3 separate regions of the Homo sapiens genome follow, and all the other regions are linked to region 2. The links are contacts of gene promoters, found by promoter capture Hi-C in blood cells and fetal thymus (Javierre and others, 2016). All regions are on one chromosome and are shown on one strand. Each heading gives the region's core, a stretch centred on a gene start or on the middle of the fragment in contact. The rest is flanking DNA. Distances are from core to core; before and after follow the strand shown. Region 1 holds the start of ARHGEF3 (Rho guanine nucleotide exchange factor 3). Region 2 holds the start of ARF4 (ARF GTPase 4). Region 3 holds the start of TASOR (transcription activation suppressor).

Region 1 (3,776 bases), core at 1,115-3,614, 800 kb after region 2:
AGGGTCTCTGTCACCCAGGCTGGAGTGCAGTGGTATGATCTTGGCTCACTGCAACTTCTGCCTCCCAGGCTCAAGTGATCCTCCCACCTCAGCCTCTGGAGTAGTTGGGATTACAGGTGTGCACCACCATCCCTGGCTAATTTTTTGTATTTTTTTTGTAGACACAGGGTTTCACTGCTGCCCAGGCTGTATTTTTCTTATAAAAAATTTTAAAACATGAGCTATAAGCTTAAGTCCCTTTTGTTCACTATCTTTAATTCTTTAAACCCAGGTGCCTCCCTTCAGCCACAGGGGAACTGGTAAAAGCTTGCTGTGGATTCTTGTAGACAGTGTTCAATGCTATTTACCCACAAATATGTCTTTATAGAAAATATATGATATTCTTTGGTAAACTTGTATTTTTTTTTAACACAAATGGTATTGTATTATGCTTAGTCTGCAATTATTTTTAAACTGAGTCTAATACATTGGAGATCTTTCCATGCCACACCCATAGACCCATCTCCTTTTTCACTGCTGCTAAGCGGTATTACACAGTGAAGAAAGTTTATTTAAGCACTCCCTATTGATGGATATATTACCATTGTTTCCAGTTATTTTTTATTTTTTACTGCCCCAGACAGGGCTGCTGCAAACAACCTTAAGATCAATCGCCTTCTTGGGCATTTATAATGTCATTGTTTCTCCAAAAAGGATCCAGAAAGGTGTGGTAGTGCCAGGTCATCCATGCACAGCTTTATACTTGAAGGACACTCTGTCAGATTGCCCTCGAGTGTCAGGCAGCCTCTGAATATGCTAGTCAAATTTAAAAGTTGGTGCAAAGTGGGAAAGGTCTCGAGGGAATTTTCCGGGGGTGGTGGAAATGTTTCGTATACCGACTGTGGAGGTGGTTATACGGGTGTTTACATTTGTCAGAACTCAACAAACGGTACTCTTAAAATGGGTGCATTTTGCCATTTGTAGATTATATTCCACTGACATTCATTTAAAAAACCAAACAAAAACAAAACAAAACAAAAAAAACGTGCAGTGGCCTGGGAACAGGGTAAGAGAGAACACCACCCCTTTCTAATGTGGGCTTTTAAAACGCTCGCTTTTCCCCCCAGGCTCCTTCCTGCCTCCAGGTGTCACTACAGCCTCCTTTCTCCCCGTTGCCCGGTTTCGCCCCAGCCTCCTTTCTACCAGCAGCCTTTCACCCGGAGAGTGCCAAAGAGCCCGAAAGGAGCTATCATGGGGTCTGCCTGCCCCGCAATCGCGGCCCACGCTCTGCGGGGGCGCCCGGAGTCGAATACCAGCGGGGAGAGAGAGGTCCCTCTCCACCCGCGGGACCGCCCCACGCCCCTCGCAGCCCCAGGAGGTGTCCGCGCTGCGGCACGTGGGCCCTCCCGGCAGCGTGGGGCGGTGCCGAGCCGGCGGCCCGCCCCCTCCCCACCCATCAAGGCGTGGCTGGCACGGTCCCGCCCACTCGGCTCCGGAGCCCAGTCGAGTCCTGCCCGGCTAGAAGCCGGCTGTCGGTCTCCGTGTCGCCGCCGCCGCCCGGCATCGTGGAGCTGGGGCCCCCTTTTGCCTGGGAGTTTTGTAGTCGCCTAGGGTCAGCGGTGACATCCCAAAGGGCAGGCCCGGCAGCCGCCATGGTGGCCAAGGATTACCCCTTCTACCTCACGGTCAAGAGAGCGAACTGCAGCCTGGAGCTACCCCCGGCCAGCGGTCCGGCCAAGGACGCTGAGGTAGGGCCGCGCCCTGCACCTGGACCTCTATGGGTCATCTGCCTGTCTCGTCTGCCTCCATCTCCCATTCTCGGCGCCCGTCCAGTGTCACTGTCTCTGTTTCCATCTCTCACTCTCCGTGTGTGCCACTTTCTCTCTCTACATCTCTCCCACAGTCTTCTTTGTGTCTCCCCGTCGCCATCTCTCACCCTGTCTCCTTTTCTCTCGCTTTTTCTCTGTGGACCAAGCACTAGCTGCCTCCTCTCTCCCTGTCCCTCTACCTGCCGGTCTGGGAGCAACTGCCTCCTTGCCTTTGCAGGGCTCTCAGACTGTCCATCTTCTGTCTGGACTCTCAGAGGGACTTTCTCCTACTGTCAGCAAGCCCCAGTGTCAGGGAAGTGTCAGCAAGCCCCAGTGTCGCTACCCTTTAAGCGAGTTTTTTTTGCCTGGGTTGTGAGAGCAGAGGGACGTACCAGCCCTCTCACCTGTCAGACTTGGCCTTGCAGCCCTTTGGCAGCAAAAACAGGACACAGCGCCTCTGCCTATCACCTGTGGCCAGTGAGGGTCATTCAGCCGGGGGGCTGGGGCTAAATGAGTAAATTGGAGTGTCTCCCACATGGATCTTGAAAATGAATTAAAGTCCTTAGGGTCAATGGAAAGCTGCCTTGGAACATTGGAAACATTTCTCTTTCTGGGAACTTTCCTGTGCCTTGCGGGCGATGTGAAGGAGTGCTCCCAGGTTATGTTTAGTCTGCCTTTTCCTCTTGCGTGTTATTTCTCTGGCACATAGCTCACTGGCCTTAAAGGTTGGGTTCAGCTGGAGGAGAAAGCATCCCTCTCTTTGAGGGTCTTAGGGAATACAGTCGCTTTCGCTAGATTACAGCTTTGCTGTGGTCAAGCTGCGGTGGAACCCACAGGACCCAGCTAGTCATTGCCGCTCATGCGTGTATCTGGGAGCTTTCCACTCTCCCACACCTCACTCTGCGAACATCAAACATCACCACCACCACTGGGGAAAGGCTGAAGGCAGGTGTGCATCCGGCCTTGTCACAGCATTCTTGAGGTTCCACCCACTCGCCTTCCTTGGGTCTGCTCAGCTGTATGCACTTGGCTCACTGAATCATGTATATTCGGGAGCACACCATCAAAGATTCATTTCCTCTAGCAAGAGCTGCTCCAGGCTGACAGGACTCCAAGCAGTCTCTGGTTGTATTCAGCTTTCTATACGCTGAGCACAAACTAACTTCTCCCTCACTCAAACCCAACCCTACACTCCAGCTCAGTCGAATATTATCACAAAGAGTTTTTGTTGCCAGCAGCTGTGAAAGTGTGATGGCCCTAGTGGCATTTGCATAGAATTCAGGTTGGTCAGGCCTGGAATGGATATAATATTTTTTCAGTGGGAACTTCCTAATTTAATCAACATAGGAGCAGCGCAATTGGTGCCCACTCAAACTCCACTTGTAAGGAAGAAAGGCATAACCAATAAATTAATAAATTGAAGTGGGCCAAAGAAAAGAATAGTGAGGATAGCTGAGGACTCTAACCAGTCCCTTCCTACTATTACTTAGTCCTGTGTTTTTGAGTAGTTTAGCTAAAGGCTTAGGTAAAACTTGCCTGCTTAATTTCATTTTATTCTTATACATAGAATATAGATATGTCTATATATCACAAATATGAAACTTATCACATGTCAAATATTAATTTTCTTCATTGGTAGCTGGATCTAGACTATAAAATATGACTTATTTTCCTCGTATGGGGATATCCTGATGTGAGAAATAAGGAAGGGGTTGGAATAGTTTTGGAAATAGTTGGTAAATATTTTTCAGATATCACTATTGGGGTTTTTGTTTTTTAGTGTTTGATTTAAACACTAAATCAAGTATGCTTTATACACTTTGAGGCAGAGATATCTTTTAGCTTCATCGATGAGCATATCACTTCCTGATAATGGAAATTGGCAAAATTGGAAAAAGAAACCTAAGTGAGTTTAGTGGGTAGTTTTCTGGTTTCCTTATCAGCGCAAAAGGCAGCCAACCCTTGTAGGCCTAGCTTCTCCATAAGCAG
Region 2 (3,885 bases), core at 428-2,927:
TGTCATGGACGCGTGTCCTCAACTTTGGCAAAATTAACTTTCTAAATTAACTGAGGCCTGTCTCATATTTTGGGGGTTCACAAAAGGATACAAGAAGGTCTTGTCACTTAGCAAGCTTCCAAAATGCAATTTTGAGTTATTCAACTGCTAAGCAACTCTTTACATGTATCTCCAATGCAAAGGAGGGTACTTCTGAGTAAAGAAGTTTTTGGGGTTTTTTTGTTGTTGTTGTTTGTTTTTTTAAGACAGTCTCGCTCTGTCGCCCAGGCTGGAGTGCAGGGGCGCGATCTCCGCTCACTGCAACCTCCGCCTCCCGGGTTCACGCCATTCTTCTGCCTCAGCCTCCGGAGTAGCTGGGAGTATAGGCACCCGCCACCACGCCCGGTTAATTTATTCTATTTTTAGTAGAGACTGGGTTTCACCGTGTTAGCCAGGATGGTCTCGATCTCCTGACCTCGTAATCTGCCCGCCTCGGCCTCCCAAAGTGCTGGGATTACAGGCATGAGCCACTATGCCCGGCCAGAAGTTTTTGCTTTTAATTGCCCAGGGCCACTCCTAAGAAATAACAGTCTCTGAAGGGTAGATAAGGTAGTGCTACCAAGAGAAGCGTTACTCAGCAAGCCTTCAAAAATATAAAAATAACTTACTGTTTCTGAAAGTTTGCAAGTTTTTCTTATTCAACCCCATCCTATGGAAATATACCAGTTGGAATAAGCAACTACAGAACCACATAGGACGGCACTACTAGAAAAATAGATTAAATCTTTATCCTGGCAATGAGTCTAATACATTTATCATTGCTGTGAATTTTAAAAGGTGTAGCAGGCCGGGCGCGGTGAGTCACCGCGCCAGGCCCGATCATAAACACTTTTAAAGTGAAGAGGCTTTCCGCTTCCTCAACATAAGGAGTAAATCTTTAATGCTGCTTCTAGGAAAAAAAGTACAAGAAAAGCAAGACTTCCTCCTTGCCTTCTCTTTAAAAAGCAACAGCCGATGAACACGTGTTGGAGCGCTCTCGCCTTGACAGAATTAGAGATCTTCAGAATCACTTGGCGTGGTGGTCGAAGCGTCTAGCCCTAGCTCATTAGGGTGCCACAGTTTCTCGGCCCACAAGTCAGCTTTTAACCACTTTTCTCCGCAAAAGACCGGACCGGTCTTCATGCGTCAACTAAAGCAAGCGTCTGGTCCCGTGTGTGAAACGTGTAAGTTCATGGCATCAGGGAATACCCATCGCGCGTACCGTAATAGAAGAGGGCGAGGTTCCTCACCTAACCCATAATGCTCAGCTCGCCTTTCCGGAAGCAAGGACTATCACCCCGACAATACCTTCATCCGGGCGGAAGCGTCTCACCCTGAGTCTGATTTGGCAGTGACGAAGCGAGGTATTGTGGGACTTTGTCCGTCTCCCAGTACGCATGTGCCTCAGCCGGCCTCTCCCGGCTCCTGGGGCCACGTCCGGGCGGTGGCGCCGTCGAGAGATGCTCGTCAGCGAAACTGGCCAATCCCCTGCAGGCGCAAGCGCAGTGGCTCGGGCGCACCGGAAGCGCAGGGGGATGGGGCGGCGGTGACGCGATTCTGTCCGCGTTGGAGGGGCCGGGCCGCTGCTGGAGTCGCCGCGGCCGCCGCGTGACGTGGCACAGCCAGAGCCTAAAGGCTAGAGCCGGAGCTGCCGCGCCAGTCGCCTAGCAGGTCCTCTACCGGCTTATTCCTGTGCCGGATCTTCATCGGCACAGGGGCCACTGAGACGTTTCTGCCTCCCTCTTTCTTCCTCCGCTCTTTCTCTTCCCTCTCGTTTAGTTTGCCTGGGAGCTTGAAAGGAGAAAGCACGGGGTCGCCCCAAACCCCTTCTGCTTCTGCCCATCACAAGTGCCACTACCGCCATGGGCCTCACTATCTCCTCCCTCTTCTCCCGACTATTTGGCAAGAAGCAGATGCGCATTTTGATGGGTGAGTGAGGGGCTGCGAGTCAGGCGGGACCTGGGAAAGGCAGGGTCTCCACAATTGGGGTGGCCTCTGGGCCTGTTTTTTTCCTCCGCCCGCTGTGGTGGGGGAGGGGCGCCGGGTCGGGGGTCGGAAGGAATTCTTAAGGGGGAACAATGGAGCGGAGGGTGAGCGATCCCCCCCGCCCCCGATCTGTCGCCAGACGAGACAGGGACAGGGCTTCGGGCAAGATTTCTTTCTGGACTCGGCTTTTTCTCCTTGATCTTATTGAAAGCTGGACAACATTGGGCAGAGATGTGGGGAAAGCCAACTCTGGGAAGCAAACACTTGGCGAGGCCCTTTCTGGGGGTGCGATCTGCATACCTTCTTGCCCGGGTGTGGACAGCGGTCAGGAGGGAGGCAGAGCAACTCCAGCCTTTTCCCTCCCCTTCTGCGTTTCGTGTACAGTCCCTGCATACTCCATTGGTATGTAAGCCAGCGGCCACCCGGAGCCTGGAGCCGCCCGGGGCAGGAAGTTGCGGTGGCCAGGGAGCACCCAAGGTTTCCGAAGAGTCTGGAGTCCTTCAGCGCTCACTTTGCTAAACTTGGCCTTGCGCTGGATTCCGTTTCAAGTTTTTCGCTCCTTGTTAATCTCATTCTCCGAAAACTGAGCTTATCTTCTATTTCTTTGACTATTTTCAAAAACTTTAAATGTGTTTGGTTTATTCTCCTAGGTTTTTAAGCTTATTTTTAGGCGGTCTAAGGTCTAATGCAAAAAAATTTTAGAAACGAATTTTTAAAAAATACCTGATAAATTTTCAAGTAACTGAACATCATGACGCTGAATTTTATGGTAGTCTTGTTAAATAGTAACTACAATTTTTTTAAAATTTCTTTTTAGAAAGTTGACTTTTTAAAAACTACTTTTTAGGGGGCGTGTTTTTGCTCAGCTGAGGGAGAAGGGCTGTCAGTTGGCTGAAGTAAGCAACCGCTCCCGGTTACTGTAAGCAGTCTACATCACAGCTGAGCTCCATGGACTAGAATAACGCTGAAAGAAGCCCCTCTAACTTTGAACGTTGAAACTTGTTGGTTCATTAGCTTGTTTTCTACCGGAGGAGGTTTTATTTTTCTCTTCCTTTTTTTTTTTTGCAGACGGAGTTTTGCTCTTGTCACCCAGGCTGGAGTGCAGTGGCGCAATCTCGGCTCACTGCAACCTCCACCTCCCGGGTTCAAGAGATTCTCCTGCCTCAGCCTCCCGAGTAGCTGGGATTACAGGCATGCAACACCACGCCTGGCTAATTTTTTGTATTATTAGTAGAGACGGGGGTTTCACCACGTTGGCCAGTCTGGTCTCGAACTCCTCACCTCAGGTGATCCACCCACCCAGGCTTCCCAGAGTGCTGGGATTACAGGCGTGAGCCACCGCGCCCGGCCGGAGGTTTTATTTTAGAGCTGTACTACCATCAAAACTTGCAAACACAAGCTTCTGTAATATTTCAAGGTATATAAAGAGTAACAGTATATACATTGGCTCATGTTTATTTTCCTCTTAGCGTACTTACACTTTGTGAATCAATTGTTTATGAGTCATTCATAAAGTATTTTTTCTTTCAAAGTTTCTTAGATTTCCTTTGTCAAGAGGACAGAATTATTTTAGGAGGGCAAGCATATTTAAGTTTTCAGTGGCTGAAAGTTGGCAGTCTGAAAAAGGATCGGAAGTTAATGGGAGGACTTCGGACTGTGATAAATGAATTTCCAGTCTGTTCGTTAAAGAGATTTAACAATATATGGTTATGTTCCAGAACACATAGTATATTGGTCTTTTTACTTAAGATTTATTGTAAATGAATTGCTATTTTTCAATTCCTTAGTCTTTTGTGATTGATGAAAGTATCAGAGGGGCAAGGAATATAGAAGTATGCTACCAGCATTTTCATATATTTACTATATTGGGAGGCATTTCCC
Region 3 (3,821 bases), core at 699-3,198, 910 kb after region 2:
TTGCCCTTAGGAATGCTCTTTAAGCCTGGGGCTTTATTATGATGATAATTTGGTCTGTAAACTCCTTGGGAGACAGTTTGAGACTAGAGATCTGGGTCTCAAACCTGATCCTGCTGCTTGGCGACCCTCAACAAAATGTCAGCCCTCTGTTGCTTCGTCCATAAAATGAATAAAAGTGCACAGCTGCTGTGAAAATTAGGTCTTAGAGAAGCAGTCAGTGCAGTGCTTAAGTACTTACTCGGAGAGTTAAATAGACCCGGTTTCAAATCTTCGGTTACCATAATTTGTCCAGTGTCTTGCAACGCTTCTTTCAAATTCTGCAAACTAGTATCTACCTCATGTCTGTTGCTGTGAGGATTAAATGGAGACAATGCACGTAAATCACTTGTCCAGTCCGTGTCTAGCACGTAGAAAGCACTCAGTAAATATTGGCTGTACTCACGATAACCCGTGATAGTTTATACTGATAAGGTAGAAACCACTATGTAAAGGGCTCTTAACTATGAAGTTGTTCCCTTTATGGGAGAGCGACGACCTGCTGTGTATTTTTTAATGTGACCGCAAGTTTATTTTTTCTTTAATATACATTTACTATAGGAAAACGTTGATGAACGTTCCAGTGGAAGAAACAGTGGAGTTAGAGGTTTATCAGTGGCCAGATTTTTAACAGAAGTAACCATAGAAAGGGAACAAATGGAGGCCAGGTGCGGTCTCCATGGCGTGTGGTGGGGGGGGGTGCGACTAAAGGAAAAAAATGGGAAAAGTTAACAGCCTCCTCCCCTCAAACTCCCCAGAACCAAATCCTGTTAACACTAGGTTGTTAAGTCCCATCAGAGGATCTCAGGTGAAAGTGCTTGCTGGAGCTGTGACACTGGGTCACACTCTCTGAGATAAAAGAGAAGGCCGGGTGCGAGTAATCTATCATAAAGATACAAGATCCGGTGAGAATAGCAGGTCGCAAAGGCTGTCGAGGCTTTTAGGCTATTACCGCCTAGCCCATTCTTTTATCTCCTCTCCAGGTTTTTGTACACATGCAAATAGTTCATAAAACCGAGATCGTCCCGCATCCACTGCTCTGAAGCCCGTTTGGGCCGAGATAACTCGTGCGCAGAGGAAGGGTTTTGCCCACAAATGGGCGACGCCTGCGCTCCGGAGAAGAGGCCAAGCTAGTCTCCCTCGCCTGCAGCGCGGCGGGGGAATCCCCGGGAACCCGAAGATCGCCAGGGGCCCACGCATTCCGCAGGCCACGGCTGCGGCGTCGAGGTCCTCGCGGGGCGTTGCGGTCGCCCCTTTTGGCGGGCTCGGGCGCCCCGAAACTCCGCCCCCCGGCGCGGTATTTCCGCACTCGCGCAGGCGGGTGCCGCGCTCCCATTGGTGGAGTGGCCCGCGGTGGCCCCGCCCCCTCCCGGCCCCGACGCGCGCACGTTGAGTGGCGGGGGAAGGCAGAAGAACTGCCCGAGGGAGGAGCGGCTCCGAGGACCGGGCAGCGCATTTGGGGTGCCCGCTACAGGGCCCCCCAAGAGGCTGCCAGGTCGGGAGCGCAGCCTGAGGCCACGGGGGGAAGGGGGTGGGTGGGCTGAGAGCAGCTCGGCGGCGAGACTGGCCCGCCGCCCCTTCCCCCCACACCCGTCGACCTTGTGGGCAGAAGCTTCCCAGAGCTCCTTAGGCCGGCGCGATGGCGACTGCTGTGGAGACGGAGGCCTGTCAGCCGACGGATGCGAGTTGGGAAAGTGGCGGCGGCGGAGACGACGAGATGAAGCAGGCGCTTCCGGAGCTTGAGTCCTCCCAACAAAATGGCGGCGGCGGCGGCCTCAACATCGCTGAGCCCAGCGGCGGCGCTGGGCGTGAGGAGAACGCGGGGGCCGAGGCCGCCCAGAGCCTCAGCCACGAGCAGCCTCAGGACTCCTCTGAGGCGGGCGCGGCCGCCCTGCCCAGAGGCCCCGAAGAGCCCGAAAGGCCTGTTAGGAGGAGTTTTCAGATCCCCAGGAAGAGCAGAGAAAAGAAAGGTGGTGCCTCCCCTTCTTCTCAACCCCCTCTCTCTCTCCCCTCCATCTTTTCATTAGAATCTTTCTATCTCCTCTTCCCACACCCATCCGAGATACGTAAACACGCATGCAGCGCCGGCCGCCTCTCCCCTCACCGCCACGGCCGCCCAGCTGCCGCGTTTGGTGCGAGAGAAAGCGGTGGAACCACGCTCCCCTGCTGCCCCTCCCCGCGGAAGTTGGAAGTAGCTCAGGTTTGAAGCTTGTCCGTAAGGCTGCAGCTCCCAGAGAGGAAAGATGGTGCTCGGCGCCCCTCCCTCCCAGCCCCTGAAAGCAGAGAAGCCGTTGTGTCCTCCTAAGGATGCTTCTGAGAAGTCTCGCTATGGAAATAGCCCGTGGCCATGGATTCTGGGGCTTTCTCCAAGGCCATTGCCAATGTTCTGAGGACCATGAGTGCTTCTCCCCGTGGAAATTCTTCAGTTCTGTGTGTCTACTTGAAATGTGCTTGATGTCAGCGTCCTCCCTTATTTAGAAATCTCTATTAGTAGATGTGATCCATGCACACTGCTGTTTTCCATCACACTTCATTTCCATGTAGATTTTTCCCCCTTGTTTTTGAAGCGTTAGATTAAATAGGTTTTTCTCTCTTTAAATTCGAACTTAGTATTGTTTTTCTTATATTTGAAAAGAATGGAAAGGTAGGTTCTTGGAGCAGTAATTTCCCAATGGAAAAAAACTAATGAGAAGTTACCTTATTCTCAAGAGTCACCAACTTGGTCTTCTAGATGGTAGAACTTCAGGTTAAAAAAAAGTCCAGTCTTAGTTTTTGGAACCCATATGGAAACAGTTACATTAATTACTTGTACTTTTAAAAAATCTTAATGCCATATTGTTAATATGGAGTCAGAATTCCTAATGGAGGTCAAAATTAGTATCGTTTTTTGTTATTGGGGTATTATTTTTTAACTATCCAGTAAATTTTGGATATTCTGAATTTAGACAACTTCCTTTTTGCCCTACTGTATGGTTAGGTTTTCATTATTTACTTTGGAAAAAAATAGGATTTGTTTTTTTCCCGTATCTTTTCCATCCATCTGGTACAGAGTCTTGGCTGTAGCATTATACTGACTTTCCATAAGCATCACCAGTTCCATTTGCACTACTGGAATTGTTTGAGCCTTTTATTGGAAAAATACAAATAAAGTTCATTTGTTTGGATGGCAAAGCCAAGAAAATACTTGGTGTGAGAAACCATGTTGACAAAGATGAAGTTAACCTTTGGAAATTAGCATGAGGAATGTTTCTAGAAATATCTTTTGAGTTAATGTAATTTTAGGGTTCAGAAAGATACTTTTAAAGGTCAAAACTCAGTTCTTTTCGTGTATTTAGTTAAAATTTGAGATGTATGATTATAGTCTGTATGAGAAAAGTTCCCAGTGTAATCAATTGGTAGAGAATAGGTAGGAAGTACATTCAAATGGGCTCTGGTTATGAGGTAGGAGGTGGAACTATTTTTTTTCTTCACAGCTTGATAAAAGCCGTTTGAAATCTATTTTTAAGGTTTAAGTGCCTAAGAATATGGACAAACCGTGATTTTTTTTTTTTTTTTTTTACTGTTTGTTAGGACCAGAAGATTGGCCTAGAAACTCTTCAAAATTTAGTTTGAAATGTGGGAAGGCAGTAGGAACTGGAAAGGCACTGTGTTTGTGTGTTTTTTTAAAATTAGATAAAATCCAGAGATTGTTGTAAAATAGACTTCAGCTGAACACACTAAAAGTGGAAATAATTGAGGGATTAGGAAATATAAATCTAGCTGTTGTCCCCCATAGTCTTGTACCT

What was found. Contacts are between HindIII fragments. The CHiCAGO score rates a contact against its expected background, and 5 or more counts as called.
Region 1: a contact is called between a fragment that was not itself captured here and the fragment with the promoter of ARF4 in region 2, in 1 of 17 cell types (fetal thymus). The highest score is 5.9, in fetal thymus.
Region 3: a fragment that was not itself captured here is called in contact with the fragment with the promoter of ARF4 in region 2 in 5 of 17 cell types (fetal thymus, naive CD4 T cells, monocytes and 2 more); the score reaches 11.3 in fetal thymus.

What each region holds. Positions count from the first base shown.
Region 1 is chr3:56,799,654-56,803,429 of GRCh38, reverse strand. It overlaps ARHGEF3 (Rho guanine nucleotide exchange factor 3), which reads left to right and starts at 1,481. Exons shown (of 10, transcript NM_019555.3): 1 at 1,481-1,727. The coding sequence starts at 1,632. RefSeq lists a silencer at 1,312-1,481. The HindIII fragment of the contact is 4,111 bases long and covers 309-3,776 here.
Region 2 is chr3:57,595,136-57,599,020 of GRCh38, reverse strand. It overlaps ARF4 (ARF GTPase 4), which reads left to right and starts at 1,677. Exons shown (of 6, transcript NM_001660.4): 1 at 1,677-1,947. The coding sequence starts at 1,881. It overlaps ARF4-AS1 (ARF4 antisense RNA 1), which reads right to left and starts at 1,232. Exons shown (of 2, transcript NR_132370.1): 1 at 970-1,232. It also overlaps a transcript of PDE12 not described here. RefSeq lists enhancers at 654-1,359, 874-1,433, 1,454-1,703, 1,714-1,783, 1,974-2,023 and 4 more. The HindIII fragment of the contact is 2,548 bases long and covers 118-2,665 here.
Region 3 is chr3:56,680,861-56,684,681 of GRCh38, reverse strand. TASOR (transcription activation suppressor) reads left to right here and starts at 1,417. Exons shown (of 24, transcript NM_001365635.2): 1 at 1,417-2,006. The coding sequence starts at 1,676. RefSeq lists a silencer at 1,285-1,584 and enhancers at 1,725-1,894, 2,315-2,434, 1,642-2,586. The HindIII fragment of the contact is 596 bases long and covers 1,651-2,246 here.